Linked DNA regions of Homo sapiens: regions 1, 2, 3 and 5 are each linked to region 4. The links are contacts of gene promoters, found by promoter capture Hi-C in blood cells and fetal thymus (Javierre and others, 2016). All regions are on one chromosome and are shown on one strand. Each heading gives the region's core, a stretch centred on a gene start or on the middle of the fragment in contact. The rest is flanking DNA. Distances are from core to core; before and after follow the strand shown.

Region 1 (5,239 bases), core at 2,406-4,905, 2.5 Mb after region 4:
TGTACTGAGTTATAATCCAACAGTACCTGAGTTAGTTCCAGTTTTGGCCATTGGGAGCTCTTTCAGGTTAGCTCCTGGGTCCCTTTCACATGTCCTATCCTTCCACTTACTGGAACAAGTACCAGTACCTTGTTCTGGTACTACACGATGCTCTAGGCTCATCTTGTATTTTCCCTGCCCCAGCCCCAGAATCAGCAATGTCTGCAAGGAGCCCTGGTTTCTTTCACTAGAGAATGGTATTAGAAACCCGGATCTGGGTACTGGGTGTGTTCATTGTTACTGCGGTGTCACTGCTTTAGGCCCTCTCACAGCAGGCAGAGCTAGGACATATGTATATGCATAACCCATGTATACACACACACCTATAATTATTTCTGCTTCTATCCATCTGAATCTATATTAAGCTAACTATGAATTCTTATTGACATCTTGGACAAATCCATTACTACCTGGCTCATTTTAGCCTTTTCTACTAATCTGTAACTTCCCTCTCCAACAATAAGAAACTTGGCTCCCTCCATCAATTGGTTTAATATTAAGGACTAACTTTCTACCTTTTTCTCTACTTCATCTAATTTTACAAATTTATCATCTGTAATTTCCACATTTCATTGAAAGGAATATATAACCAGGAGGAGAAATAACAAAAATATGAAATACCTTTCAAGTTCTCCAAGTTCTTATCACAACAGTGAAGAAGTGAACATTTAAATCTAGTCACCATTGAGACCACTGGACCCTTCTGATTACAGGCTCTCAGGAAAGTAAACATCATCAAAAGAGGATAACTATACTTTGCCTTTTCTTTTTGCCACAATATCCTGTTGCAGCAGTTGTTTAGAATAACTATCCAATTTATCATCTTCCCCAAGAAGTTTGAGTTATCAAGGCTGGAAGAATTTATGTTAAAGAGAAAGAATTTCTTTGTAAGAAATTCTTCCGTTTTTACAATTATTAGGGTAATGGGTTTCTTGACAGTGGCATTGCAATGAAGCCCAGAATTATATTTGATTAATTCAAGTCATCTTAAATCTGTAGATGTTTAAAAAAAAAAACTTAAAAAAAATCTATGGAAATTCCAGATCTGGTTATAACCTTCTGTCTTTGAAAAGTTGTCATATTTGGAATATTATCACCTTCAGTGTATGAACGATAGAAGTATTATTGCCATAATATCATTATTAATTAAAATATCGTTACTTCTAAGGCTCAGTGGACTCTGGTCAGCATTGATATACCATGGGTGCCTGGCTGGCAATAAACAAGACATCATATTCAGAAATGCTTGATGCGTTTGACTTCAATGCTTTGGCGTTATGATATTCTCAAGGGATTTAAAAAATACATGTGAAACCAGGCCAGCTACTGGGATTTTTAGTTTTCAGTATTTTTGGAGATGAGGCCTCACTCGGTCACCCAGGCTGGAGTGCAGTGGCACGATCTCGGCTCACTGCAACCTCTGCTTCCTGGGTTCAAGTGATTCTCCCACCTCAGCCTCTCAAGTAGCTGGCATTACAGGCACGCACCACACACCTGGCTAATTTTTGTATTTTTAGTAGAGACGGTTCCGCCATGTTGGCCAGGCTGATCTCGAACTCCTGGCCACAAGTGATCTGCCTGCCTCAGCCTCCCAAAGTGTTGGGATTACAGGCGTGAGCCACTGCATCTGGTGAGATTTTTAGTTTTACATTATTTCACTTGCTTTAGAGCTGAAGTTTTCTATGGCATTACTAAACATATACAATCCAATTAATGTTTTAAAGTAGGAATGAGTAGGTATTCTCAATTACTCCTCCTTTCAATACTGTGCCTTTTGGTAATGCTTTCCAGTGTTTTCTTGGTCAATAAGAAACAGGAAAACCACAGCAAGCAAGAAATAGATAAAATTAGCTTATCGGTTCCACCAACTACTTTTAATAATTTTCACCTGGCACAATTCACTGATGCAAGAGTAATTACTTTTTCTTTTCCTTTTTTTTTTTTTGAGACGGAATCTTGCTCTTGTCACCCAGGCTGGAGTGCAGTGGCGCAATCTCGGCTCACTGCAACCTCCGCCTCTCAGGTTCAGGCGATTCTCCTGCCTCAGCCTCCGGAGTAACTGGGATTACAGGCACCTGCCACCACGCCCGGCCAATTTTTCTATTTTTAGTAGAGACGGGGTTTCACCATGTTGGCCATTCTGGTCTCAAACTGCTGACCTCAGGCGATCGGCCTGCCTCAGCCTCCCAAAGTGCTGGGATTACAGACGTGAGCCACCACCGCGCCTGACCCTCAAGAGTAATTACTTGAATAAGAAGTACTAGGTTTAGTATTGCGGGAGATTCAATTCCAGGAACAAGGCTACACTGACAGTCATTATTAAATAAAACAGTTGTTTTTTCTATGGATTACAATAATTTTCTCTGAAGACTCTTTTGCGGCCAGGCATGGTGGCTCATGCCTGTAATCCCAACATTTTGGAAGGCCAAGGCAGGTGGATCACTGGAGGTCAGGCGTTTGAGACCAGCCTGGGCAACACAGTGAAACCCATCTCTACTGAAAATACAAAAATTAGCTGGGTGTGGTGGCGTATAGCTGTAAGCCCAGCTACTTGGGTGGCTGACGCACGAGAATCACTTGAACCCGGGAAGACGGAGGTTGCAGTGAGCTGAGATCACGCCACTGCATTCCAATCTGGGCAAGACAGCGAGATTGTGTTTCAGAGTTAAAAAAAAAAAAAAAAAAAAAGGCCTTTGGTTTGCATTAAAGAAACCAATCTTAGCCTGAATTGACCAGAGGTGACCAAAATTATTTAAAACACATAGGTATAAGAATGTGGGCTCTGGAGTCAAACTGACTTCAAATTCCTGATTTACCTGCTAATAATTACATGACAAGTTAATGGATCTCCCTAAGCCTCAATTTCCTCTTCTGTAAAATGCAGATAATACCTATGAGCGTTAGTCTTGAGGCACAAGTGCTCAATTAATGTCAATTTGTAATATAATAAACTGGAATAGACGTTAGTGGTTAATACTTTCTCATTTGTCGGCCTTTCTCTATTTCACATCACAGCTGCATGTGTATCACACACTGCCCCCAGACTGAACTACATATAGTGCTCTCAATACTGGAAGATATTTTACACTTCTTAGAAATACTCTTCCCTTCCTGGACTCCTTAGCAAACTCTTACTACTCAAGATTCAGCCCACACATCTCTCATCTATTCGGTCACTTACTCATCATCCAACGTTTTTTTTAACACTCGCTGTAAATGGCATCCTCGTTCTGGAAACGCATCTACCAGCAATTAAAACATGTAGAATTAGCACTGCTTAGGAGAACGCCTATAAAATATGCATCTTAGATCATCTTCCGTTTTAGAAAATTGATCCCACCTGCTACACGCCTGGTGAAACTCCAGTTACTTGCCAGTAAGATATTGTCCCCCAAATGTACTTATCCTGTTTTTGTGCATTATAAGCTTTGTTCAGTTTATAGTTTCTAGGCCCATTACTAAAGTCAAGTCAGATATCCAGCTGAGATACAACTTTTTTTTCTGAAAACAATGTGAGCAATGGACAGGTACGCTGTGATTAAAGGGAGAAAAGCTGTAACGACTCCCCAAATTTCCTTTCCTTATGAAATTTACGTATGTAACAGGAAGTTAAAAAATAACTACCACTTAATGCATACTGAACAGAATCTTGTTTCAAAGAAAAGATATGAAATATGGAGGCACTTTCACCACACAAATATCCCACTACATATGCTAACTGCAGTATTTATGTTCAAAACTGTAAGAACGTGTCTGATACCCTTTATTAGTTAGGAATTCCTGAAAATGAACTTCTGTGCAAACCTGAAGCTTCAACACGTGTTTTAAAAAGCAGTGCTTATTGAATTGATAAACAAAAGCGAAACTGGCAATATCAACGTGTGCTCACCTCACAAATCTGACAACAGTATCTCTACACTGCCGTTCTTTAAACATCATTAAAAGATATTGTGAATAGTTTAAATATTAAAAATGTGGAATATAAGAACGATTCTATATATTTGAACACACATTTATATTCAAATATTCATATGAATAAAAATGCTTAAAACTACCCCTTGGGTAACTAAGTATAACAACATAAACTTGCGATTGCAAATTTTATGGCTCTTACTACAAAACAAAAAGTAGAATGAAAAGACCACTTATCTTTAGAGGACAAGCATGAACTTGTTTTCTAACAGCATAACAATAAACGTATTTATTTCTCCGAGCTTTCAAAGGCATCAACAGAAGGGAATCACTAAAAATGTAGGGGAAAAGAAACACTCGGCTGGAGCTTTGGTTTCTAAGCAGATCCTTCTGGAAAGACGCTTAGGGAGAGTCTAGGGAGCAGCTCTGACGTCAGTAGCTGCCATCGGAAGTCAGGTCATGTTCTACAAAAAGCAGTGACGCACGCCCGACAGCACCCGCGGGGCCGGACAGCGGCTTCACCAGCCCCGCGGGTCCGAATCGCACGCGGCCGGGTCCGCTCTCCCGGGAGGAGAGCCCGGCGTGGACCAGCGTGACGACCCCAGCGTGCTGCGGCCTCTCCCCGAGGGCCCCTCCACAAGGGTCCCTGCGCGGGCCGGGCTCGGCCGTTGCCACTCGGGACAGCCATCCCCTCGAGTTCGCGCTCGCCGTCCCCGCCTTCACCTCCCGGGTTGGGAGGCGGGCGACTGCGCGCGAGGTAAAGGAACTTGCGTTCCCCGGCGCCGAGGCGGCAGCAGCGCAGTGCACAGCGGCTTCTGAAGGCGGCGTCGACGGGGAGCTGCGCGTGGCTCCCAGTTTCCTGGTTACGTGCGCGCCGGCAGAGCCAAAACCTGCAGCCGAAACTCCCGCTTCTCCGTAAGGATTAAAGGGCGGGCGCACTACCGGGAGACGTGTCAAACTCAGCGCGCCTCATGGCGGCCGCGGAGCCCCACCCGCTCCTACTCCAGTCCTCTCACGCCCACTGACTTACCCTGCGCACGCGCGCTGAGGCTCCGTGGGGCCGCCGCGGGCCCCGCCCCGAGGTGGGAGGGCCTGACGCATCCACAGCTGGCCAATCGGCGGATGGCCTCGCGCGCCCGCCCCCTCCCCCTGCCCCCGGCGCCGGGCTCCACGTGCCAGTGTTTGTGTACGTGCGGCCGTGGCGGGGCTGGACAGGGTCCGGGTCGTTGAGGATTAGGCTGCTCGGGCGTAACCGGAGCTGGGGCGCGGCTGCCAAGGGCCGGCCCGG
Region 2 (5,111 bases), core at 2,374-4,873, 2.6 Mb after region 4:
CCCATGGGAGCACAAGATGAGGACACGTCGGAGCAGGAGACAGGGGCTAGGTTATGCAGAGCCTCCAGGCCAAGCTGAGCGGGTTGGCTTTTCCTTCAAGTGAAACGGGGAACTTTGGAAGGTTTCCATCATGAGAATGATTTGATCTGACTGAAAAGTTTACAGGTCACTCTGCTACATGATAATAGAGTATGGGGTGGGGTGAGAAGGCAATTGCAGGGCTACCGCAATAATCTAAGTGGAGATGAAGATATCTTGGACTAGAATGGTGGTGGGGGAGGTGGGGAAAGCAGGTAGATTCAGAATATACTTTGGAGATGAAGCCAGCAGCATTGCTGGAGGATTCGTTGGGGCCAGGAGAGATGAATGAATGATGGCTCCTTGTTTTTTGGTGAGAGCAGATGGATGAGGGATGATGTCATTTACTGGGGGAAAACAGTAGAGTAGGAACATACTTTAGGAGAAAAACATTTTTAGATATGTTAAGGCTAGGTTGTCTGTTAAACATCAAAGAAGAGATATCCAATAGTCAGGTGGGTCTACCAGTGTATGATTCATGGGAGCAGCAATGAACACATCATTCAACATGGATGGGCCGGGTGCAGTGGCTCGCACCTGTAATCCCAGCACTTTGGGAGGCCTAGGCGGGCAGATCACGAGGTCAGGAGATCGAGACCATCCTGGCTAACATGGTGAAACCCTGTCTCTACTAAAAATACAAAAAATTTGCTGGGTGTGGTGGCATGTGCCTGTAATCCCAGCTACTCGGGAGGCTGAGGCAGGAGAATCGTTTGAACGTGGGAGGTGGAGGTTGCAGTGAGCCGAGATTGTGCCACTGCACTCCAGCCTGGGAGACAAGAGCGAAACTCCATCTAAAATAAATAAATAAACAAACAAACATAGATGTCACTGCTGGCCATGCAGAAGGACATGCATAGAAGCCCGAACGAAGTGCTTGAGGAGAGAATGGAATGTGGAGATTGGTGGGCATGGAGGATAGGTCACTGTTTCTAGTTTCACTGTGGAAGGGAAGACAGTGCATCCTGGAAGAGATGTGAAAGTCAAGAGGGATTTTTTTTCTTTTTTTGAGATGGAGTCTCACTCTGTTGCCCAGGCTGGAGTGCAGTGGCATGATCTTGGCTCACTGCAGCCTCCACCTCCAAGGCTCAAGCGATCCTCCCATGTCAGCCTCCGGAGTAGCTGGGACCACAGGTGTGTGCCACCACATCTGGCTAAGAGAAGGAATTTTTTTTTTTTTAAACCACAGGACATTCTAACATGCTTGTTTGCTGCTGGAATCACATAGTAGAAAGGGAGAAAAGCAATAATTCCGGACAATGAGGGAGGCTAATTGCAGAAGCTGGGACTTGAGAATTCCACAAGAGATGAGATCCAGAGGAAATCACTTTTGATTGATCAAGGACAATTCTTCCGTTGAAATGGGAGAAGACCTAGAATATGGGTTTCACAAATGTGAAGGGTGAGAATGAAGGAGTTTGGGTCTGAGTGCTTCTACTTTTTTCATATAGAGTGGGACCATGTTATGAGTGGAGCGGCCAGGGAGAAACGTGTTCAAGATTTGAGAACAGGAGGAGTGAAATAGCTTTTTTGCAGAGGATTTGAAGAAGAATTTTCTGTGGAAATAAAGTAAGTTTTCCCAATAGCATTGAGAGTGCATTTTAGATTCATGGTATGACTCAAAAGTGAGTGTTTTTCTCCAGCAAAGTTCAGATGATTCTGCACAGGCAGAGAGTAGGCAGGGAGTCGGATTCATCTATTTTTAAAAGCTATTAACATAACTTTCTGTTTTTCTTATGAGTTTCAGAGACATCGGCTGCTACTTATTCCCAAAGGAAAGGTAATTTAAAAACTAGGCAATACTTAGTCACACAGAATTACGTGATTCTAGAATTGGAAGGGAAATTATCAAAGAACCCAGGAGATAAAACACAATCACACTTCACCATTTACCAAGTCCCTGCTAAACATACAATATCGGGAGGCACATAAACAAAGCGGAAGGCATGGTCCCACCCACCAAGATGAGAGTTTATTGGGAATGTAAGAATATTACTCATCTCATATTCAACTTAAATTTTCCAGCTGCTTCATATTTCTGTCAAAAGTGAAAAACAAGGTAGTTATCAATGGGATGACTTTTGAGGTAATTTTTATTCTGAGCCTGCAAAAAATATTGTATTCAATGTATACAAAAAGTACCAACTGCATACCTGTAGCAAACAGACCAAGAGGAACCAATACATTCTGAAAATGCAACAGGGTAACGATTCTATATAAGATGTCAGGCTCTCTGCAAGCTTTGTAATTCTTAGTTTCTTCTCATTGCAACCTCTGCCTCCCGGGTTCAAGTGATTCTCCTGCCTCAGCTTCCTGAGTAGCTGGGACTACAGGCATGTGCCAGCACACCCGGCTAATTTTTGTATTTTTAGTAGAGACGGGGTTTCACCATGTTGGCCAGGCTGGTCTCAAACTCCTGACCTCAGGTGATCCTCCTGCCTCGGTCTCCCAAAATGCTGGGATTACAGGCGTGAGCCACCATGCCTGGCCGCAGGTTCTAATACTGAGTTCTGCTGTGACAATTCAAGTTCATTCCTAGATGTCCCTGTCTTACAAAGCTTTGTGAGGTGTGGCACCCTCTGCATGAGGCTTTGTCACAGTCATTATGCAAGGAGCTATGCAACAGGTTGCCTGCCGCCCAGATTTGAATTCTAGCTTTGCCACACACTCGCAGTGAGGGGATAACTCTAGGCGAGTGTCCAGTTTGTAGATAAAGCCCTTACTGAGGTGTACGAGGTGTACGGCACATAGTGAATGCTCAAGAGACACTAACTCATTACTGCAGAGGCAATATGATGATAATTTGGTAAATTCAAAATTTCTAGTCAAGACGGAGGGGAGAGAAGCCTTCTCAAAATTCTCCAGTGCTTCTCAATTTTCTCAGAATAAATCCCAAATTCATCCATGGAACTACAAAGCCCTGTCCTGGTTCCTCCCGCCTACCCTTCCCTACTTGTTCTGCTCCATTTACAAGAGCAACCGTTCCTCAATCACACCAGCCACGCTCCCACCACAGGGTCTTTGCAGTTGCCATTCTCTCTGCCTGCGGTGCTCTTTCCCTAGAAATCTGCACAGATTGCTTCTTTACTTCCTTCTGGTCTTGGCTCAGACGTGACCTGCTGAGTGAGCCCTTCTCCTACCACCCTGTTTAAAATGACACACTTCCCACCCACCTCTGCCACTCCAAATATTCCTCCCCCCCTTCTCAGCCTTATGTTCTCCATAGAATTTATTCCCCGCTTACACACAATAGCCTTTGTCTGTCTGTTCCCTCACTAGAAGGTAAGCTCCATGTGGGCAGGGAATCTTGCAAGTCTTGTTCACTGTTGGATCCCCAGCACCTAGAACAGCACTTGAAACTTAGCAGGTGCTCAAAAGAATATGCTCCACAAACGAATGAATGAATGAAAGCTCGGGTACAACAGGGTGCTGGGAACAACACCCTGGACACCCTCAAATTCAAAAGTCTCTCACAAACCCATTCCAATAAGGGTTAATTAGGTTAACCACTAGTTCTGAAATCAGAGACACCTTGGGAACATTCTATAACTCTTTGTAACCTGGCAGTAGTTATGCAAATCAGGTCATTATTTTCTCAGTACACGGGGAATGGATCACTTGGTGACAATGAAAGCATCAGTAGGAGAGTAGAGAGAAGGGCGCCAGCCATACCTCCTAGTTTTGCCTATAGTTGCAGGCAGGAAATTCCTGGGTGGCCCCTGACTCAAGATAACTGGTGTTTATTAAGAACCTGTCCTGTGTCAACCCCAGACCTGTAAACACTGTGTTCTGGCAAGAAAGACTGTAACTCTTAAACATGTACATGTGCTATTTTGCATGTAACTATTTTCTATAAATGTTGGCATCTTTCTCCAGAACCCTAAGCCTCATTCATGTCAAAAAACATGTGATCTTGCCAAATTAAGGTACTTCTATTTCTTCTGACCTTACATGCTCTCTTTGAGGTAAATACGGAGCTACCTCAATGTCTCAACTCTCTGTGAGGACTCTTTCTCCTTCGTTCAGGGGGCCCCTTTGCCCCTCCTGGTTGCCCAGGGAAACCTGCATATCTCAAGGGTGGAGGCAGGAGGGCGGAGAGGGGACTGGCCAGTGCCTGTCCTGCTGGCCTCCACTGGGGTGTTGCTCATCCTGGTAGTGCCTGGGCACCCGGGTGTCTTCTGTCTACTGAGGTGTGGCTGCTCTAGTCTCTTCTTTCCGGGCCCTGACAAGGCTTTTTGTGAAGATCTTGCATGGTGGAGGTGCAGAAATCCTGTCCCAACCTCAGTCCTCTTGTGGTTCAGCACTTTGGCATCAGGATTGCCCATATCCTACAGAGGGGCAACTGGGGGTCCGGGCATGGCACATCAGTCTAGACCCTTCTCCTGCCCCGTGCTCTGCTCCTTCCCCGGCATGTCCCCTCACAGCAGGCTCCTCTGAGAGGCGTGTAGTCAGTCGCCTGGGACTCCACCTTCAATGTCCTCAGATTCCCCTAGCTGGGTACCCCCATCTTATTCATAATTTATGTGGTGCTTGAAAGCTTTAGCTATGTGGCTATTTCAAACATCCTCCCCATATAATATCCTGTAGTCCGTAAATATTTACTATAAAAAGTAGTTTTCTTTAGAAAAGGTATACACCCCTCCCTGGATATCCACAGGGGATTGGTTCCAGAGCCTCTGCGGATAGCAAAATCTGCAGATGCCCAAGTCCCTAATACAAAATGGGGTAGTATTTGCATAGCTTCTATGTGTATCCTGCTGTATACTTTAAATCATCTCTCGATTACTTGTAATACCTTATACAATGTAAATGCTATGTAAATGGCTGTTATACTGTTCAAAATTTGCATTTAAAAATTGTGGTACTGTTATTTTTAAAAATTTTCCCCCCTGAATATTTTCCATCTGTGGTTGGTTGAATCCAAGGATGCGGAACTCCCAGATACCGAGGGCTGACTGCATATCGTTTTAGTGTGTGTCCAAAAAACTCAACAATTCTTACTTAGCATTCAGAGAAGCAACGGAGCGTAGCGT
Region 3 (5,158 bases), core at 2,633-5,132, 2.3 Mb before region 4:
AAGAAAATGGAAATGCATTTATTGTGCCATCTCCACAGATACGTTAAAACTTTCTTAACGTGATTTCTCATCTCCAAAATTTTAGTTTGTTTTTTTCATCCTTAAAAAACACATGTGACCAAATGCTATATAAATACTTTTCACTGCTCATGTCAAAAGTTTCTTGGCAGTCATTTTCTTATAACAGTTTAGAATACTGTGTTTGGAGGACCTATTCAGAAGGATTTACGGTTTAATGTACTATAATAATAATATAGTATACATCATACAATATCTATAAAAGAAGTAGTATCTGAGGCCAATTAATGCTGGCGTTGCACTATAAAATGTGGTTTTATCATAATCACAGTCATAATCACAGCCTATTAAAGTACACATCATCCAAATCTCATTTCCAAATTGTTTCATGTCACAAGAAATAAATTTATTATGCAGAAGTGTTATTTTATGTGCTCATGTTCATTAGATTCCATTTCATTGGTAGATAGAGTCATGGGTTATTGGTTTGATGGTTTATTTTTAAATAAAATGTACTTTTTCAAAAAAGAGAATATTTTTAAATTTTTCATATTTTTTCTAGACATCCACTGACAATTTTAAAAAGTTCTATCAATGATCTATATTAATAATACATGGCCTAAATATTTCAATGGAAGAAAACAGATCAAAATACTAGTCTCTTTTTAGCTATGGAAAATTTAAAGATGTGTTTAAATAAACAAAGTAACTAAACCCTCAATCCAGTGCCAACAAGGCATTCTGACAACAATGTCCCCCACAGCCAAGAGTCACATCGTGAGAAAATAGCCAGCGAATATAACCTGATCCCCCGACCCTTGTCACTGCTTTGTGATCAGATCTTACTATGCAGTGAAAGAAACAATGCTATTATTACTTCTCATGAAGTGTCTTGTTTTTATTTCTCTTGTAATTTATCTTCAATTGAACTGATATTGATTTCGTGGGGGAAAATTGCATAATCTCCAAGGAGATTTCTAAAGGCTAATCTTAGTTTGTGCTTTATTTTTTTCCATAGGTTTATTCTTGCCAGTGATTTATCTACCTAATAACATTATAGATAAAACCTGATCTTTCCATTTATTTCTTCAAGAGCTGTTCATGTTTGAGCACGCTTTGTCCTTAATTGCCTGGGGATTTTTCGATAGCCCTGTCTTTAGTGGTCTGAAACAAGTTGCAATATAAGTAATTAAGGCACTGCGCAACAGAATCTACAAATTGCTGTTTAGCTTCCATGTGTGATATTTAACTAATTGTTCATTGCTGTGCAAACCTTTAACTTCATAGATGTCATGAATTTAAAGTGAATAAACATTGCTTTTCTATTTATTAAAATAGTGTAGTGTAATAGTGAATACTAAAGCTTCCAGGTACTTTAAAATACCATCTTCCACTGTCTGCTGTGCAGTTTAATTTCAGACTGTTGAGGTTATCAATCATTCCTTAGAAAACTGTAAAATACGCTTGACTTCTACAGAGAGGCTATAGGATGCAGTGAAAATTGAGTTGCCAGGGAGTAAGAGAATTGGACTCTAGATCATCTCTGCCTAGCGGTGCTCCCTTTTCTTCTGTGGTTTTGCTACCTCACCAGAAAAATTAGGTATTGCATTAAATGACTGTAAATGGACTTTCCAACAGAGTGTCTTTCTGGGGGGCTAAAGAGATTTTATGTGGAGTGCAATCAATGTCTGGAAACAAAAATGAGAGCTAAAATATGTACTATGCTACCTAGGAGAAATTTCATGCAAAGTTTTAGATTAGATGTTTCTTTCCCCCTTAAATATAGACACATCAGTAATCTCTTCCTGAGCTTGAATATTATATTCTTGGCTAATCTGGCAACTGCTGGTGAAGGGAATAATTTTGTTTGCTGTAGAAGAAAGAAAGGCTCCACTGAAAACATATTCAGGAAGTGGGATGCATGACTGCGTTTTTCCTAAGTTCACATGAGGCATTGTGAACTTTGTTTGTGCCTGCTATTTATTTTGTATGGTCGTTATTTCCCTTGATATTTTGTTTGCAGCTTTTTCCCCTCTACGGTTTGATGCCTGCGATAATAACAATGCCCCTGCAAAACAAATCCACAATGAGTAAATAGCAATGGTTCTTCTAACCCTCTCTCAAAGAAGAATTTGATCCCTTGCCAGGCATTTTCTGTTTCCCTAGGCCTTTAAAATGACCTTAATTTGCAGACATAATCTGGCATCGTTGTCGCCTGTAACAGAGATGTCAATATTAGAAGTTTGAATCCTGGAATGATCACAAGTGGGATTATTTAATTCCTAAGAAGGCTGGCAGTTGAGGGCAAGAAAGATGCATTTGGAACAATCTCCAAGAGTTTTTTGTTTTTGTCTTTGGTTTCCAACTAGAAAAGGAAAACAGAGATTCAAATCCTAAGCAGACTTTTCAAAAGACAGGCTTCTTCCAAGCAGTAAGAAAATACTATTTCTATTCAAAGACACTTGAAGCTTGTGTTCCTTCATACCTGCCTGGGGTGCTGAGTTTGCAGAGCCTTTCTGCAGACACCTGAGGTTTTTATCAATGAGAATCATGAAGCTTTGGAGAAATAATATACAATAAAAGAGCAATAACTGCTCTTATTAGGCTCTTTCAAGCCATCTGGTGTGATTTTTTTTTTTTTTTTTTTGCACTTTCACGGACAAAAAATTTTGTTGATAAAATTGCCACTGAATTGTAAGTCATGCATCCTTATTGGAAGGCTGATTCTTTGCACCACTAGGTGGCAGTGTAGTCACGTACTTATGGTTATTCATCTGCCAGCTCCTAAATAACAGGGCTTCCGGCTTCAGTGTTAGGTTTCCAAGCCTCTCGTGCATCCTAATATCCATGTCTCCTTTATTCAAAGGACAAGCATATCTGTACTTAAGTGATTTACTCTGTACATCAAGCTCTGTGAAATTTGCACTTATGTTTTGCTTTTATTTTCAAAGAAAACACTTGAATACATTTTCAACAAAATATTACAAGTATCATGCTGATCTTCAACTAATTATTTTTTTATTTAAAATGCTCGGTATGAAAATGTTTTTATGAGCACATGAAAAATAGAAAGCTTGAGAGATGTAGTTTAAAAAATATTATTCTAAACTCACAAAAGTAAAGCTTTGATCTGTCTCTTGAATTATTTAAAAAAGAATAAATGAGCATATATAATTCAAATCTTGGAGTACTATCAAGGGCATCACTATGGGAATTATCTAATGTATTTATTTAAAATATTTTCTACAGTAGACTTTCCAGAAATAATGATGCTTAGAAGAGGGCACTTTTAGTGTTATAATTTTAGTTTGGAATAATTTATGCAAATAATATAGAGTGTTCTCTAGAAATATCCTAGTTTCTTAAGGAATGATGTAGTCTCTTGGATTCTTATATAGAGAAGCTTGTGGTATCTTGTTTCGTATATTTTTGGCAAACTGCCACATTCCGGGATGTCTTTATCACCTTGTTTGACCCACAAAGTGCAGTATCTGCAATGTGGACAAAAAAAAAAAAAAAAAAAAAAAAATCAATAAAATTATTTCCTGCTTCTCATCACTTTCTTTGTTCTAAAAGAAAAGAAAATCCAAGCCCTAGTAGATAAACATTATCTGACCAAACTCTTTTGCATATGTCTTATCTAAACTTTCTTCTGTATTTGGCTGCCTATACAGTCTTACTCTAATATTTTCTAGAGAAACTGGTGTTACGAAAATGCCGGGGGTTTGGTCTAGGTCTCCTTGCTTGCCACAAAGAAAGCCAATCACTAAGACAAGGAAGATTGCCAGGGAAGACTTTATTCAGGTGCTGCAGCCAAAGAGACAGGAGATAAGTTTCAAATCTGTCTCCTCAACCAACTAAAGTTGGGGGGTTTATATATCAGGGAAGGAATGTAGCTACCTGCAGGGAAAAAATCAATTAGGGAGGAGTAAGGAAGTAATCAAGGTGGATGAGGGGCCCGGCATCTCATTTTCTGGATGTAGTCATCTGGTGAGTTTCAGTCCCTTGCCTGAAAGTTGGTTTTAAGACAGGGAGGGTCAATTTCTATGTTATTAAAAAACGCGTAATGTTGGATGAAAAGAGGCATCGCAAATTCCCCTAGGGAGGTTTTTTTCTATTTGGTCATCCAGGGCACAGGGCTTCATCCATGCTCACAGTGCCCCCTAGTGACAGAACAGAAAGAACTCAAGTGTACTCTGAAATCTAATGCTCTGTGGCTAATACACATTATGACCTATGCTAATCCTTTTCATTTCATTACTTTGGGGATGGATCCTATCAAAACATATTTGATATTTCTATAAACTCTACATCTCTATGAATCAATAAGCTTCTTCCTTAAACTCATGCATCAATCATTATCAGACATGTTAGGGAGGCAGAGACAACGTGGAAGTGGCAAGAGTCTCTGACACACAGCCCACGTTTCACTATTTACAACCACACTGGCCCCAGCTAACATCCGTCAGGAGACTGAACACCAGCACTATGACTCTTATGCTTTTTGTGATGTTCTTACCAGGTGTGTAAGGCATGTGATAAGATAATGTATAAACCAGAATGTATAATTTCATCTGTAGAGAATAGTTTAGGTAGCGGGGAATTCTGGCATGCGACATAGAGGCACACATAGATTTTCCTTCATCTCTCTCTATTTCATTACTCTAGTCATTTGAACATAATGCCCAAATCATTGACTTTTCAATATTTAAGTCCCCCAAATTGAATGACATGACCACCCTCTCACTTGTCACATTTTGGCTTTTTCTAAGGACTTTCATTATTTATCTACATTGATTGGATGACCTTTGCCATCTATTTGCTAGCCTTTAAAAGATTTAAGTCTTCCATAAGCATAATCTGGCCGCATTCTTCCCCAAATTAATTAGTATTATTGCTCTCCTGTCATATATTCATGAATTGTGCTTTCTTTTCTTTTGCACCTGCTCTGACTCATTTCAAGGCTGTGTTATCCTAATGAAATACAAAGATTGACCTTTACTGTGCAATCTAATGAAAAATGTACTAATTTTAGGGAACTAAAATTTAACAAATTTCTATCAAGGTAGAATGCGTGCTTTTGTAATGTTGAAAATATTGTAAATATCAATTACTATATATAAAAGAACACATAGCAACA
Region 4 (5,187 bases), core at 1,709-4,208:
CCAGCAATGAGCTTGAGCCAGATGTTCTCATCAGGCACATGGGCTGAATGAAGCCTGCTTCTCATCAGACCAAAGCCCGAGCCAGCCCCTGGTTAGCCGACCCTGCTTCCAAGTAGTAAAAAAAGGAACCCACAGAGACACCATGCACATCCCTCAGCTATCTCTGCAAGGGGCTGTGACCCTCTGCAGAGACGCCGACTATCAGTGCACTGGTGTGGTGCAGGCCAGCAGGTTGCCAGTGAAGCCTGCCAGGCTCAGCACAGGCAGCAGAGCCCTGGATCTCAGGGCCAGCCTGTGTGGCCACTACCATGCTTCTCTCCGTGGCTCTCTTTGGAACTTAAGAGACAAGGCCAGGAAATTGGGGTAGTTCAGTAGGATACTTTTCTTTCCAGTTGTTGATGACAAAAGGGAGATGATGCCTTCTGACCAACTTTCTTAATTAGGCACTCACCAGGCTATGTCACTAAGCAGAATGGGACATAAAACTTGCCCTACCGTACGGGTATTTGGTGTCCAGCTTATTCTCTGCTGTCCTTCTCCAAGGCAACACGTCATCACTGCACCCATTTGGCATCCCATTGTACCCAATCCCGACAATCTTGTTTTCTGAATTCACGATGCAGGCGCCGACCTAGAAGGAAACATGCCCAAAGGCTTGGTGCCTGCAACTGGCTGGTCTGCCGCTGTGGAAGCAGGGAATAAAACCAGGGGGACTGCAGAACTCAAAACAGACGCATAGCTGCTGCAGGTGCTGAGAGCTGTCGGTCTCCTTGCCTGGTTTTTTGTGGCAGCACCCACAAGCCAAGGAAAGTGCACCCCCAGTCCCAGAAGGGGCACAAGAGGCAGTTAACAATGGCATGTGACAATTTTCTGTCTCACAGGAAGAACTAAGCTTGTAGAAACGCAGCACAAAAGGCAGACCGACCCTGCACTTTTAAGTTGACAGGCGTCCACTGAGTCTCCCCTTTCTGCTCATGTGCAGTAATCTCTTTGCCTGTGAGTATCTAAGCATTCTCCCGTGAAATTCATTTACCTGGGAATTTGGATCTTTGCTTCTCTGTGCTGATAAGAAGGCCACAGCCATAAAATACTCTGGCCATTCCAAATAGTCGTCCCGTTTCTTGCAGGAAACTTCACTCATGTTGGGTCTAGAAGAAAAACATGACAAAACAGAAGTTGAGAGAAGCATTTTAGTAAGTCTGTTTTCCAGTTCAACCCAACCACACTGAACCTTTAAATCTCTAAACATGGGCAACTTCAGCTACATTTATCAATCAGAAATCACAGCACATGGGCCCTAAACAGTCTCTGGTCTTAAGTAAAAACTTAAGAAATTTCCTATTTCAGAAGTTTGAATTTGAAACCTATAGCTTCACGTTCCCAAATATTTCATCTATTTACTGCTTTCTCATAGGATTTTTTATGCCAGCCTACAAATTGTTGTGTCCTTTACCTGTCTCCCTTACAAAGCGGAGTCAGCACAGGAGGAGGGTGGAAAAAAGAAATATTTATTGATCATCTATAGATTCCAGACATTGTTAAAGTTTATACACATCATGTCACTCAAGCCTTACTCCTAGCTAAGGTAGACAGTGCCATCCCATCTTACACAGACTCAGAGAACTTAGGTAACTTAACCTAAACCACACAGGATTATCATCCATGCCAGACGGATTCAAAGAAAACATCTGAAGCCTTCCCAACTCTGATATTAACCAGATAATTTTTCCCTTCCCTTTCTCCTCAATAATCCAGATGGGACAGAAGTTATCAACTCCGAGTAATGAATTACATGAGAAGAAACTATGAAAAACGTCAAGTGCTACTCCTAAAGCAAGGTTTTTGGAACGTAGTTTACCAGGGGCAAGCAGAGACTGTCTACGGCAGGGAGAGCCCACGAAGGGGGTCCTAGGACTTCAGGGGAGTGGTCGCTTTCAAAAGGAATGAAACAAGGGCAAGGAAGGAAGACAACACAAAAACGGGGTGGGTACCACGGAGAAATCTTGAGAAAGGCGAGGAATGTGGTCTAAAGGAAGGCAAGCATCTCCCAAAACTTCTGCTTCAGGCTCCACACTTTATTTAGGCATCTGCTACAGTGCAGGGCGGCAGTGCCTAAGACAAGGATGCAGTGGAGAGTGGGTGCTGGGAACCACGGTCACCCACTGATTACGCTGCCCCACATCTGAGAGGCCTGGCAACCCCCCTAACAGGAAAAGACAGGTGCTGAATCAGCCTGGTTTCCCACCTGGCTTTAGGGCCAGCATCCATCATCGCTGTGGGGTGCTGGAGAAGTACCTACTAAATAGGAGGGAGGGGGAGCCATGGGGGGCGAGGGAAGAGCAGGAGAGGGAAGGGTCCTGTTAATCCCCTGGGCGCCTTCTCCTGGTGTGGCTGAACGCCCACTAGAGCCCTGTGAGGACTGAGGCCCAGCTGTAGAAACAGAGAGAACTGGAGCTCGAATACAACGATTCAGGAAGACACATCCGGTCACCGTCCCAGGCACACCCCACGCCGCTCGCAACCCCGTCAGCTCTGATCCAGGGCCTACACCCGGCATTCCCAACCCACACACGGGCGCAGGAAGGGATGTGGTGTTCAGACGCCCAGCACCACCTCCCGGGGCACTCCAAGGGGCCCGGCCTCGCACAGGCCGCGGCGCCCGCCGAGAAATCGACCCTGGAGTGACTGCGGGGACCCCGAGCGCCCCCACCCCGCCCGCATTCTCCGATCTAAAGGCTGAGCGCGGCCGAGGCGCCCCCAGCGTCCGCGGCCCCAGGCCCCCGCCCGGCAGCCAGCGCCCCGCGCCACGCGCTCGGGACGGTGCCACGCGGCGGTGGCTAGGGGCGCGCGGGCCGCGTACCCGCACGGCTGGCCCCCGCCCACCATCCGGTGCCGGCTCCGCGCGCAGGCCGGTGCTCGTCCCCGCCGCCGCCGTGCTCAGGGAAGGAAGTCGGGGGAGGAGGCGGGGCCGCCGCGGGGCCGGAAGGGGGCAGCGGCCCGGGCGCCGCGCGTTCGCAGGACGGCGGCTGGCCCCGGGGGCCCGAAGCCCTGAGGGGAGGGAGGGAGGGACGGCGGGGGCGGGTCGCACGCCGCAAAGGCGCTGCTCCGCGTCGCCGTACGCCTCCCGGTCCCCGTGACGCAGCCCGCGGTCCGGCCGGCGGTGTTCAGAGCCCGAGCACAAACTACTTCCCGGGTGCCAGACCGCCCCGAGGTCGCCCCGCTGCCCGGGTCACGCGTGGCGCTGGGTGGCCGCGAGTTGGGCGCTCCCGGGCCTGACTGCACGACCGTCGGGGGCTGCTTGGTTTGGTGGTGGTGGCGGTGGTGAGGTTTTCCCCACCATCCGTGTTCCATCAACTGCTTAGAGACACGGCTATGGAGATTGTGATTAAAAGACGACCCCAAGAATCTAGTGCCGTGAAACTGGCGGGGCGGGAGGTGGGGAGACCTGGTTTGGGTCTCTGGAGTGAGCCCGCTGTGTCGCAGCGTCCCCGTGGGGACCCTTGGCCGGTGGCTGGGTCACAGTTTCACACACTGGATGGGGCAGGGAACTGGGTCCGGCGGGGGCGCTGTGCCTCGAGGCTCAGTGCCTCGAAGCTAGATTTGCATTTGGCTGCGCCTGACAGGCTTTCAGTTTCTGCTCAAATTGTGCGGAAGGGCCTGAGGTGTTTGCTAAAGCCTGCCGCGCCCTGCTCGACCCGTATCACCGCACAGGCACCCCACCTGCATGTTACCTCCTGGTAATGCTCGCCCACTTATATAGTGCACATTTTGTTGCAGTTGTTTCAAAGATGAGAAAAACAGGGCAATAGGAAAGACCATCAGTGACATTTCTGGAGTCGTATGCCCCAAGCAACTTAATCTGGTTTTCATGAACTTCGTTACCCTGTGCAGACGTCTAGCCCCTTACAGTGGTTCTAGCACAGAGAATGACAGAAGAACCCCTTTCTGTTTCATTCATGGGACTTGAGGGGACTGTCAGCACTCCATAAATAACAGCTACTGTAATAATCGCCAGTTCTGATCTGCACATCCCAGATTTGAACTGCTATTCCAAACAAAAGCTTGTTAACTATATTAATTTAGCCTAACGGAGGAAGAATGATGAGAGTAAACAGTTGGTTCTATCTAATTTCTCACTACAGCAGACACATCATTCTTCATCTCATGGTCCAGCTTGTAGATTCAATAATTAAATTATGTACTGCTCTTGGTGGATGCCGGGAAAGCAAAAGGGAGAAATACTTCATCGTTAACTATAGATTTTTTTTTTTTTTTTTTTGCCTTGATAAGACTCAGGCTTGAAAGAGCCACATAGATTAAGATGATGATTTTTAATTTCAAGTTGACTTTACATGGCTGTCTTGTTGCCGCTAAAATGTGTCATATATCCCGAGCCCCTGGTTTCCCTCCTCCTCCCAAATCCACCGCTTGGTCTTTGTCACACTCATCTACAGTCTTTGGGTCTTCATAGATCCATTTCTCTTCTTACCAACCTACAACCCATACATCACCAATTGCTGCTGCTCCTTCAACCACAACATCATTAAGCTTTCTTCCTTCCTCTGCTCGGTAAAGACTGTCATACATAATTTAGTTACTTCTCATCACTCTCCATTTTGGTCAACTCACACACTCCCCTCTGCCATAAATTCAAGCTCCTGCTTGCTGAAAACACATTACCCTGAATGTTCCCGCATTTCACTGAAAGTCCCTCATCTTAAAGATGACATCATTCATAATACAGGAAACCCTCCTGGTTCAGAGTTTCACAACTTGAGGTTTCAAATATTGTACACCAATAGTGAAGCCACGCGGCCAAAGGGGGGAGAAATATATTCCTTGGTATGTCTTTCTCATTAACACCTTGTAACTCCAAGTGTGACTGTAGGTGTTAAATCTCTCTTGCTAATACCTTGTATTTGGGCTTATAATTGAGGATCTTTCTCCACCTACTACAGATACAGAGGTTAGGTATGTGTTCAGCCCTATCTAGATTGGCCTTCCTTGAGGGCCTCACACAGGTTGAACCCAATCAGCACATTCCTAAGGACTACTGTCTTGGCCCTTTTGTTTATGGGGTTTCGTGCTATCTATGTCTAGTCTAGAGCATAACCTGGAATATATTAATATTTCAGTGTGCCTTAGGTAGGGGATCCCGATTAAAAACAGAAGTCAAGGTAAGACTCT
Region 5 (5,077 bases), core at 827-3,326, 2.3 Mb after region 4:
GAAAGCCCTGTGTCATTGTAAAAATTAACATAAAATACGTATGCCTTTTCTCCTGTTAATCTGCCTTACAGCCCCAGCTGCAGACCCAGCTAAAGGAAAAAGGATTTTTGTTTTTCCCCCCATCCCCTACACTTGTCTCCTTGCCAGACTGGGAGCTCCTCGTCACTTCCTCATCTTTATAACCCCAGTACCCAAAGGAGAACCTGATGAATTTAGTCATTCAAAGAATGTTTATCCCACAAAGGAGTTTGGAGTTAGGAGATTTAAGATTGAGCCATGCTCTTTGCTACCCACGAGGGTAGAAAAATCGCCTTGTATGTGTGTGGCTGGGCATGGAGGCTCATGTGCGGTGGCTCATGTTACAGTCTCATGCCTGTAACTTTGGGAGGCCCAGGCAGGCAGACCACTTGAGCCCAGGAGCTTGAGACCAGCCTGGCCAACATGGCCAAACCCCACCTCTACAAAAAATACAAAAATTAGCCGGGCGTTGTAGCTCTCGCCTGTAGTCCCAGCTACTCCGGAGGCTGAGGTGGGAGAATCGCTGGAACCTGGGAGCTGAGGCTGCAGTGAGCCGAGATCAGGCCACTGCACTCCAGCCTAGGCAACAGAGTGAGATCCTATCTCAAAAAACAAACAAACAAAAAAAATCACCGGGTTTCAACCCAGTTTCCTTGATAGTTTCCTGCCATCTTCCCCCACCCCTCCGGAAGCACAAACCACAACTATGCCTTTATCTGCATTTCCATGATAAGGTCATGCAGTCCCCAAGAGCTGGAAGCCAGCTGCCTCCCTAAGTGGTCACAGTTCATGCGCCCTGGTGCATAGTCCGGTGCCTGTGAGACTTTTCAGGTTTAAATTTTAGTTAATAATATCCAACAGAGTTACTGTAAAGATTTCGACACTCATGTGACTTAATTTACAGGAAAATTTACCCAACAATCCCATCCACTGAGCAATTCTTTTGATAACATTTACTACGAGGTAAGTGATTCAATTTACCAGAGAATAAGAAAAATGACTTAATAAAGTAGTTAAGATTCTCTTTACAACAGACTAGGAAAGGATAAAATTAAAGGATAGTTCATCAGACCATAACAACCCTTTGGTGCTCAATCAAGACAGAGTTTTGCCAGGAGGGGCATGGCTCACGCCTGTAATCCCCGGACTTTGGGAGGCCAAGACAGGAGGATCGCTTGAGCCCAGGAGTTGGGAGGCTGCAGTGAGACATGATCGTGCCACTGCACTCCACCCTGGGCCACAGAGCGAGACCCTGTCTCAAAAAATAAAAATAAAAAAAAGAGACAGGTAAGTTTTTATCAAAGCTGCCTGAGAGTCACTGGGCACGCCCCACTTGCCAGGTCCTACAGACCAGCAATAACAAGACTAATGCTTTCACCAAACATCAGGAAAATACACAGAAAAGCACCGGGCACTTTTTAAACTGTCATCTTGTTACTGTGACAATACATTTCTGTAGTTAAACAGCACAGTAGGCCTCCAACAAGATGCCCAATTGGGTACATGAAAATCCCGGCCCAAATTAAACACCTGTTTCCAGGAACGCTAGGCTCTTGTCTACATCCCCTACCGTCCCCGGAAGGCAGATAACCCCTCGGGCCTCGTGGGTTAGGTTCGAGTCCCTACAAGTAGGAAGAAGTCGTCAGGGCCCGGCATGTGGTCGCGGCCCAATCTCAATTTAGGGCTGATCCTGACCCTCAAAGCCACCCGGAACGCGCGAGAGGGCGGGACCCGCCATTCTCACAGGGGACCGGGGTGGAACGGCGCCGCGACCCGCCGCCGCGGGCGCCCCTGTCGTGGGGGCGCGGTCTCCCACCGTCCGCGCAGGCTTCGTTAAACCCACCCCGAGTACTCGCCGCCGCCTGGGCTCCGGAGCGGGGAGACGGATGCGAACGGAAAGGAGCGTGGCGGGCGCCCCGCGAGCAGGGAGCCAGGAGCCGCTCGCGCGCCCCTCACCTGAGAGCCGCGGCCACCACAGCCCCACGCGCGGCGCTGGCGCACTCCCGCGGCCCTGAACGGGCTCCCGGCGCCGCGCGCCCGCGCTTCCGGAGGCGGAGAGAGCGGAAAGGGAAAGGAGGGGCGGCGTGGGGCCCGGCGCTTCGGGAGAGGCGGGGGCGCACGCCGGGCCTCGTGCGGCCCTCGCGGCGGGCGTCACAGAGCGCGGCGGGCAGGCGGCCAGGCCGGGGCTCCACGCGGGCGGAGTGGAGGCCGGGCCAGGGACGCGCACACTAGAAGAGCCGCGGAAGAAGGCGGTCCAGCCCGCGTGGTTGCCATGGCGCCCTAGAGGCGTTACTGCTGCTCCCGGCTGCCTAGGGCGGCGCGGGTAGGCCCCGTTGTTCTCGTGCGTTAATAGGGAAAGCTGCCTTGATTATCTTGTAATTCTCTACCAAACCAAGAATAAAAAAGAACGGCGGCTGTGTGTTTGTGATATTTTCTATCAGCAAATTTCAGTTCATACCACTAGTTAGTTCTGTGGACCAGAGGCTGGTTTCAGAATGGAAAGACCTTTGCCGAGTGGTAAACGAGGTGGGTAGTTAAAACAATCTAAGGTAAAAATGATCTCTGCAGAATATATTGAATACAATAACTTCTCGTTGAACTCTCAGGTATGGTAGGATGATGGCACCCCAAAAATGTGCACCTCCTAGTCCCCACAACACGTGAATATGTCACCTTATGTGGCAGACAGGATTTAGCTGATGTGATTAAGGATCAAAATGGGAAGATTAACCAGGATTATCCAGTGAACCCCATGGAATCACAAAGGTCCTTATAAGATGGAGACAAGAAGTTCAAAGTCAGTAGTGGGAGCTGTGAGCACAGAAGCTAGAGGTTGGAGTGATGTCAGAGGCAATGAGCCAAGGAGTGCAGGTAGAAGCTGCAAAAGGAGGAAACGGATTCTCTCCTGAAACCTCAGGAAGGAACTAGAGCCTGCAAATTTTGATTTTAGACTTAATACCTTAAGCACTGTAAGACAATACACCTGTGTTGTTTTAACTACTGAATTTGTAGTAATTTGTTATAGCAGCAATGGTATACAATCCAGTAGTTAATAAATATTGTTCACATCTAAGTGCAAAGAAGGGTAGGAAATATGGGTCTTACCCTGCCTGTCCCGGGGAGTTCCAGTAAGGATTGTCTATTTTCGTCCTTCACAATGCATTTTGTACTTGTTGGTCTTAATTACCAAAAGTATAATCAATTCTCTTTTTGTTGCCTAAAAGACAGCATTGGCTGGGCGCAGTGGCTCACCCCTGTAATCCCAGCACTTCGGGAGGCCGAGGCGGGTGGGGCCCCCTGAGAGGAGTTCAAGACCAGCCTGACTAATATGGTGAAACACTGTCTCTACTAAAAATACAAAAATTAGCTGGGCGTGGTGACGTGAGCCTGTAGTCCCAGCTACTCGGAAGGCTGAGACAGGAGAATCGCTTGAACTCCGGAGGTGGAGGTTGCAGCGAGCCGAGATCGTGCCACTGCACTCCAACCTAGGCAACAGAGTAAGACTGTGTCTCAAAAAAAAAAAAAGCAAGAATTTCACTTTCTTTTAAAGTGCTTAATAAAACTGTGTTGGCACCACTTTCCAGGGATAGTTGTTAAACTGTGGTTGGCCCGGCGCGGTGGCTCACGTTTGTAATTCCGCACTTTGAGAGGCTGAGGTGGGCGGATCACCTGAGGTCAGGAGTTCCAGACCAGCCTGGCCAACATGGTGAAACTCCGTCTCTACTAAAAATACAAAAATTAGCCAGGTGTGGTGGTGCACATCTGTAATCCCAGCTACTCAGGAGGCTGACGCAGAAGAATCGCTTGAACCCAGGAGGGAAATGTTGCAGTAAGCTGAGATCACGCCATTGTACTCCAGCCTGGGCGACAGAGCAAGCCCCTGTCTCTAAATAAATAAACAAACTGTGGTCAAAAGTTTATCTTACAAAGGACTTGAGTAGATATTTCTCCAAAGAAAATATACCAATGGCCAATAAACACATGAAAAGATACTCAACACCACTAATTAGGGAAATGCAAGTCAAAAACACAATGAGATACCGATGGCTTTAGTCAAAAAAATAGAAAATAAGGATTGGCAAGAATGTGGAAAGATCGAAACCCTTATGCATTGCTTGTGAGAATGTAGCATACTCAGCCACTGTGGAAAATAGTATGGCATGTTCTGAAAAACTTGAACATAGAATTATATGACCCAGCAATTTCCCTTCTGGACATACACTAAAAGGAAGTGAAAGCAGGGTCTCAAACAGATACTTATGCACCCATGTTCATAGCAGAATAGCCAAAAGGCGGAAAAAACTCAAGTGTTTGTTTATCAACAGACAGATGAAGCAGAATGTAGTAGATACATAAAATGGAATATTATTCAGCCCATGACTTGTGCGCCTCTGGTCCACATAACAACATTAAGATGGTCTGCAGGACAGACAGAATGGAAGATGTATGCCGGGCATGGTGGCTCACTCCTGTAATCCCAGCACTTTGGGAGGCCAAGGTGGACAGATCCTGAGGTCGGGGGGTTGAGACCAGCCCGATGAACCCCATCTCACTAAAAATACAAAAAATTAGCCAGGCATGCTGATGCATGCCTGTAATCCCAGCTACTCGGGAGGCTGAGGTAGGAGAATCTCTTGAACCGGGGAGGCGGAGGTTGCAGTGAGCCGAGATTGCGCCATTGCACTCCAGCCTGGGTAACAAGAGCGAAACTCTTGTCTCAAAAAAAAAAAAAAAAAAAAAAGAATGGAAGATGTACTAATCTTGGTTCAGAAAGACAGAACCAAAAGGATATAGATAGATATATGAGCAGGAATTTATTAGAGGAATTGGCTTACATGATTATGGAGGCTGAGAACTCTGATGATACACCCTTCGCCGGCTGGAGAGCCTGGAAAGCTGGTGGTGTGGCTCAGTCCAACTCTGAAGGCCTCAGAACCAGGGAATAGGATGGCATAACTCTGAGGCAGTAGGCCTGAGAACCCAGGAGGCTGCTAGTGTAACCTGGAGTCTCAACGCCAGAGCCTGGAGTTCTGATGTCCAAGGATGGGAGAAGAGTGTA

The links. The method cuts DNA at HindIII sites, captures the fragments that hold promoters and counts their contacts. A CHiCAGO score of 5 or more calls a contact.
Region 1: a fragment that was not itself captured here is called in contact with the fragment with the promoter of DCTD in region 4 in 1 of 17 cell types (naive CD8 T cells); the score reaches 5.7 in naive CD8 T cells.
Region 2: a contact is called between a fragment that was not itself captured here and the fragment with the promoter of DCTD in region 4, in 2 of 17 cell types (non-activated CD4 T cells and activated CD4 T cells). The highest score is 6.3, in non-activated CD4 T cells.
Region 3: a contact is called between a fragment that was not itself captured here and the fragment with the promoter of DCTD in region 4, in 1 of 17 cell types (endothelial precursors). The highest score is 6.3, in endothelial precursors.
Region 5: the fragment with the promoter of CFAP97 here is called in contact with the fragment with the promoter of DCTD in region 4 in 1 of 17 cell types (activated CD4 T cells); the score reaches 6.1 in activated CD4 T cells.

What each region holds. Positions count from the first base shown.
Region 1 is chr4:185,391,559-185,396,797 of GRCh38, forward strand. It overlaps LRP2BP (LRP2 binding protein), which reads right to left and starts at 4,366. Exons shown (of 9, transcript NM_001377440.1): 1 at 3,221-4,366. RefSeq lists silencers at 4,489-4,678, 4,899-5,239 and an enhancer at 4,799-4,868. The HindIII fragment of the contact is 384 bases long and covers 3,464-3,847 here.
Region 2 is chr4:185,465,501-185,470,611 of GRCh38, forward strand. The region is part of intron 2 of CCDC110 (coiled-coil domain containing 110); the gene reads right to left. Among named protein-coding and RNA genes, the nearest start is that of CCDC110, 3.7 kb to the right of the region's middle. The HindIII fragment of the contact is 1,979 bases long and covers 2,635-4,613 here.
Region 3 is chr4:180,662,216-180,667,373 of GRCh38, forward strand. No RefSeq gene overlaps it. Among named protein-coding and RNA genes, the nearest start is that of LINC00290, 490 kb to the right of the region's middle. The HindIII fragment of the contact is 927 bases long and covers 3,420-4,346 here.
Region 4 is chr4:182,914,428-182,919,614 of GRCh38, forward strand. DCTD (dCMP deaminase) reads right to left here and starts at 2,959. Exons shown (of 6, transcript NM_001921.3): 1 at 2,884-2,959; 2 at 1,034-1,148; 3 at 496-631. The coding sequence starts at 1,141. RefSeq lists a silencer at 2,591-3,300 and an enhancer at 4,874-4,923. The HindIII fragment of the contact is 3,169 bases long and covers 891-4,059 here.
Region 5 is chr4:185,201,924-185,207,000 of GRCh38, forward strand. It overlaps CFAP97 (cilia and flagella associated protein 97), which reads right to left and starts at 2,077. Exons shown (of 5, transcript NM_020827.3): 1 at 1,975-2,077. It also overlaps a transcript of SNX25 not described here. RefSeq lists silencers at 1,610-2,379, 1,989-2,160 and enhancers at 2,920-3,029, 3,140-3,229. The HindIII fragment of the contact is 9,685 bases long and covers 1-5,077 here.